Linked DNA regions of Homo sapiens: region 1 is linked to region 2. The links are contacts of gene promoters, found by promoter capture Hi-C in human tissues and cell types (Jung and others, 2019). All regions are on one chromosome and are shown on one strand. Each heading gives the region's core, a stretch centred on a gene start or on the middle of the fragment in contact. The rest is flanking DNA. Distances are from core to core; before and after follow the strand shown.

Region 1 (2,974 bases), core at 94-2,593, 260 kb before region 2:
GTGGCAAGAGTTTAGATAAATCACATTCTTATCCCCGCAGCATGGACACACGCTCGGGGAACAAGATGAAGATCTGCCTTCAATATCACCGTTATGATTACAAGGCTGGACTGGCCGTCAGAGAAGCACAACAGGACCAGGTGGGGTGGCTTACGCCTGAAATCCCAGCACATTGGGAGGCTGAAGCAGGAGGATCACTTGTGCCTAGGAGTTCAAGACTATCCTGAGCAACATAGCGAGACTCATCTCTACAAAAATTAAAAAATTAGCCAGGGATGGTGGCGTGTGCCTGTAGTCCCAGCTACTCAGGAGGCTGAGGTGGGAAGATTGCTTGAGTCCAGGAGGTCAAGGCTGCAGTGAGCTATGATCACACCACTGCACTTCAGCCTGGGTGACAGAGCAAGTCCCTGTCTTAAAAAAAAAGAAAAGAAAAGAAAAGAAAAAAGCCGGGACTGGTAGCTCACACCTGTAATCCCAGCACTTTGGGAGACTGAGGCTGGTGGATCACCTGAGGTCAGGAGTTCAAGATCAGCCTGACCAACATGGTGAAACCCTGTCTCTAGTAAAAATACAAAAAAATTAGCTGGGTGTGGTGGTGGGCGCCTGTAATCCCAGCTATTCAGGAGGCTGAGGCAGGAGAATCGCTTGAACCCAGGAGGCAGAAGTTGCAGTAGCTGAGATCGCACCATTGCATTCCAGCCTGGGTGACAAGAGCAAAACTCCATCAAAAAAAAAAAAAAAGAAAGAAAAAAGAGAAAAGGCACAACAGGCTTTAGTCTAATAGTTCTTCAACCTTGAGGCTGGACAATCTTTTGTTGTGGGAGACTGTCCTTTGCGTTGTAAGATGTTTAATTACATGCTTGGGTCTTTATATGCTAGATGCTAGTAGCATCCCTTCCTCCATTATGACAACCAAAAATATCTCCACACATTGCCTATGGTCCCTTGGGGGGCCAAGTTGCCCCCATTTTTTTTTTTAGATGGAGTCTTGCTTTGTCTTCCAGGCTGAAGTGCTGTGGTGTGATCTCGGCTCACTGCAACCTCCACCTCCCGGGTTCAACTGATTCTCCTGCCTCAGCCTCCTGAGTAGCTGGGATTACAGGTGTGCGCCACCATACCCAGCTAATTTTTGTATTTTTAGTAGAGACTGGGTTTCACCATGTTGGCCAGGCTGGTCTCGAATTCCTGACCTCAGGTGATATGCCTGCCTCAGCCTCCTAAAGTGCTGGGATTACAGGCATGAGCCACCACATATGGCCTTTTTTTTTTTTTTTGGAAACAGGGTCTCATTCTGTCATCCAGGCTGTAGTGCAGTGGTGCAATCACAGCTTACAACAGCCTCGATTTCCTGGGTTCAAGCGATCCTCCCACTTCAGCCTCCTGAGTAGCTGGGACTACAGGCGTGTGTCACCATGCCCAGCTGATTTTTTAATTTTTATTTTTACTAGAGACGGGATCTTGCTGTGTTACCTGGGCTGGTCTTGAGCTCCTGAGCTCAAGCAATCTGCCCTCCTCAGCCTCCCAAAGGGCTGGGATTACAGGCATGAGCCACTGCGCCCAGCCAGCAGATTAGTCTTGGTGAAAGGGAGCCCATGTTATTGAGCTCTTAGCAAGCCTCCGTCTGTGCCACCATGGTTAGTCTATTCAAGGACCCACTGTGCCAACACAGTTACGGCTGGGTACACAATCTGGCGGGCCTCCACTGGACCAGTCAGCCTGTCCGCCCAGTTGTTTAATGCTGTCTTTTGGAAGATACCCTCTGGTGGGCATTGACATGAGACTTGAAGATCCACACAGTTGGCACCTCTCCCACAAATCCATCTACATACTTCTGCTTCAGGTTCTCCTGTCTTCCAATCTCACTCCTTCAAGGCTCCCTGCCAACCATTTAAGCTATTCACCACTGCCAAGATGTCTGCATATATGCTCATGTCAGGCAACTTCTCTCTTCTCACAAAGTCGATGGCCGGGTATACCATCCAAAGCTTGTCCAGCCTTCCTAAGCTGCCCCTGCCTGGGAGTCTAGTGTAGCAGCAGGACATCTTCAGCTCTCACCAACAGAGGAGACATCCCGTGCATAAACTTGGCTTGGGGTCTCTCCTTCTCCATCAACTGTACATAAGAAACCCTTGGCCGGGCGCGGTGGCCCACACCTGTAATCCCAACACTTTGAGAGGCCAAGGTGGGTGGATCACGAGGTCAGGAGATCGAGACCATCCTGGCTAACATGGTGAAACCCCGTCTCTACTAAAAATAAAAAAAAAAAATTAGCCAGGAGTAGTGGTGGGTGCCTGTAGTCCCAGCTACTCGGGAGGCTGAGGCAGGAGAATGGCATGAACCCGGGAGGCGGAGCTTGCAGTGAGCCGAGATCGCGCTACTGCACTCCAGCCTGGGCGATAGAGCGAGACTCTGTCTCAGAAAAAAAAAAGAAACCCTTCATGAAGATGTAAGCATGAGCTGAGGAAGGCATCAGAGCAATGAGGCAGGGAACATGTAGGTCTGGGTCACATCTTTCTGTAACTTAATTGAACTTTGGACCTGCCCAGGACTGACCCTGAAGGTGCTGTTTCCACTGTACTACGGATTTCTGCTGTACTTTTCAAGCTAAAGACTTGGTGGGTCTGACAATTACTGGCTCACGATAGGCATCCCATGGTTAAGTACTCCATCTCTACTAGGGCCCAGTAGCATGCCAGGAGCTGCTTTTTCCAATGTTGAAGAGTTCTCTGTTGCAGATGGCATGGCCTTGCTCCAGAACCCTATGGGTATTTGTTGTAACTCTCTAGTGGGGCTTGCCAGAGATTCCACATGGTGTCATTTTCCACCCCAGATAGCTCTATGCCATGGGACCTGCCATGCTGCATGGCCCAAGTTGCAGAACCATTTGTATTGCAGCTGAAACCTACTACAAAGCTCTATTTCACTCTACGTCTACTTCAAAACTAATATTTTTTTTTCTGAGTTAGCAAGAAGC
Region 2 (2,843 bases), core at 250-2,749:
TTTTTAAATTGCTCTTTCTTCTTCATTATAAGTTATAACTACTCCCTAATTTTTAGAACTAGAAATGACGAACTGCAATTCTTGGAGAATCAGTCTTTTGTAAATGTCATGGAAATACCTTTTTAGGGGTTTGGGAATGATTTAGGAATGAAGACAGGTGGATACAAAATACCAAGACTTCAGTTTTGTTGTGATCCAAACTAATAAAACATGTATCAATAAGGATTTTTTCTTAAAATGTGTGCATAGGGTGTGGGTGGGAGTAGGGGTTTACATATGTTACCCTGTTACTGATTGGCAGTGGAAGTTCATGACAATATCTAGTTAGAGCAAACTCAGGAGAAACTGATAAGTCTATGTTGAGAAATAATGAAATAGCTCAGAATGTGCCAGACCGGGTCAGGATCTCTCTCTCTCTCTCTCTCTCTCTCTCTCTCTCTCTCTCTCTCTCTCTCTCTCTCTCTCCCCCCTCACTTCTTTCCTCTTGTCCCTTCTCCTCCCTTCCCTCCCCCTCCCTTCGAAATCCAATTTAAGCAGGGTTAAAGACCCCATCTCAAGCCAGAGATCCAAGCAGTTGACAATATGCCTAGGGATTTTGGATTTGAAGACTTTTCTAAACTGCAGAAGCTGCCTAGAGTGTGACAAAAATCTCATCTCATGAAGCTTATACTAAAAACAATCAACAAGACCCAACCCCTTTAACCCACATGGCGTCAGTCTTGCTGTTAACAGAGTCTGGGCACCTGCACATTCTCAGCAATAATTTGAACTTCTCTTCTTTCCTTATCACCATTTCCATCTCCTCCAAACACCCACCAGAATATCAGAACTGGATTATTCAGAGCTATTGAGAGGAAATTGTAAATACCTTCTAGGCAGCAGGTCCTCCACAGCCCCGAATGGGTCATTACTTCTTCATTCTTCCTGCTGGTTTCATTATCACTTGTAGATTTAGTCCTGCACACACCTCTGGAATATAACCAGTAGTCCGTGCCCACTGCAATGGTCATTAAACTAAAAGCGGCAAAGGCTCCTACAGTGGTGATCAACATCTGGATACCTCTGTCACACATCCTCATAATTCTTCATGGTACTCTGGACGGCTGGGGGTTGGAGGGGGAGAGTCAGTGCCGGAGGGGAAAATCACTCTGCAGCCGGGTAACCTAGTACAGGCTCTTCCAAAAATTCAGGTCTCCTTTTGTCAGCATCCACAGGGACTTTGGGAAAGCTGGGATTTCCTTTCTGGAGCTCTCTCCAGTTCCCTGGGTCGCCTATGGCCCTCGGAAGGGTGCAGGCTCCGGGGGGTTGGTCCGCATCACTGCTGCCTTCTGAGGGTCCCTGGGTTCCTTTCATTCCTCAGGAGCGTGGTAAAGACGAGGGTCCGTGCAGGGCATGGCTCCGGAGCCTGGAGCTGCCAGCTCGGTTTGAGATGCGCCTGGCTTCTCACAGCCCCGGGAGACTCAAGGCAAAGAAACCCAGAGAGGTCTCTGTGTGAGTGTGTGTGTGTGTGTGTGTGCGTGCGTGCGTGTGTGTGCGAGCGCGTGTGCTGGGGGTGAGGGCGGATGGCAAAAAATAGCACTGCTGGGAGGCGAGCCGCTGAGAAGAGTGTTCACTGCTTCCACAGCCTCGCAGGAAAGCTCTCCGCCTGCTCCCGACACCCCCGCTCAAACTGGAGAAAAGACAGAGTCCTGGGGCGGGGGCCGGCTGGTTTCCCTGGGGGCGCCAAGGTCCGTGGTGCTGAAGGGACAGCTCCCCGCCTGTTGCCCCGCCTCCGTCGTCTTAACGCCTAGGCTTTAAGGTCCGTGGTGCCGAAGGGACAGCTCCCTCATGCAGCTGCACACCGCCGCCCGGGCTAGAAACCCGGGGTGCTAAAGGGTCTTTCTTCCCTCACCCCGCCCTTCCCCCGTTCCTTCCCGGGTCAGCCAGCCGGCTCGGCTCTGCCCAGTCAAGCCCACTCTCCGCGCAAAGTTTCTGGAGCCGAGGACAGTCAGCGCCCTGGCTCCTGGGCGCTGCAGCACGACCCGGTTCCTCCGCTCTAGGAAGGGTTAAGGAAAGGGGAAGGGGAGCGAAGCCCGTAGCGCACTCTGGCGCTCCCTCAGCACCCACCCAACGCGGCATTCTTCAATCCTCCCTTTCACCCCATGAGCCAGGCAAGTTTGCCTTTTGCTGCGGGCACCACTGGAGCCCATTGGGGAAAAAGAAGACCCGAAAGACCGAGTCTTCTTAAAGGCACCGGCAGCTCTGGAGACGGCTCTATGGCTCGCTTAGGCGGGCAAAAAGTGTTGTCACAATCACATCTGTGTAGAGTCTGTCTCAATTTGGTTCCCCAGCAAACAAACCAATATGTCTACCCTCCTTTCTCTGGAGCTCTGGTTTACACCGAAGACAACCCGCTCAGATCAGACCCGGAACTGTTCATATATACATGATCATGTATTCCTAAAAGATGGAAGAAGCTAAATATACATAGACTCTGTCATACACATATTAGGGACCTTGGGCAAAAGACTATAAGATTTTGGCCTTTGAATATGCCTTTTATACATTTTAACATATCTACATCGAAGGGGGTGATGGATTCATGGTGGGAGAGTCACTGAAAATGTCAGATTTTGTTCAAAGGTCTCTGAGATATCATTTGTTAACATTGTTATCTAAGTGAGACCATGAAGCAGGTGAAGTTAGGTCTGCTTTGCTTGTTAGTCCAAAGGGCAAATGGCATTGCACACCTGAAAGCTCTCTTCCTTGGAAATAGCCAGTATTGCAAAGGACCAGCATTTAACCAGCTTTTTATTACTATGTATTCCGGCATATGCATGGGCACACACCGAGTTGACTAGAAA

The links. Contacts are between HindIII fragments. The study calls those that stand out against the background at their distance.
Region 1: a fragment that was not itself captured here is called in contact with the fragment with the promoter of CACNG3 in region 2 in 1 of the 25 tissues and cell types used here (dorsolateral prefrontal cortex).

Annotation. Positions count from the first base shown.
Region 1 is chr16:24,514,105-24,517,078 of GRCh38, reverse strand. No RefSeq gene overlaps it. Among named protein-coding and RNA genes, the nearest start is that of RBBP6, 24 kb to the left of the region's middle. RefSeq lists an enhancer at 1-71. The HindIII fragment of the contact is 7,482 bases long and covers 1-2,974 here.
Region 2 is chr16:24,254,991-24,257,833 of GRCh38, reverse strand. It overlaps CACNG3 (calcium voltage-gated channel auxiliary subunit gamma 3), which reads right to left and starts at 1,499. Exons shown (of 4, transcript NM_006539.4): 1 at 869-1,499. The coding sequence starts at 1,079. RefSeq lists an enhancer at 1,024-1,751. The HindIII fragment of the contact is 9,462 bases long and covers 225-2,843 here.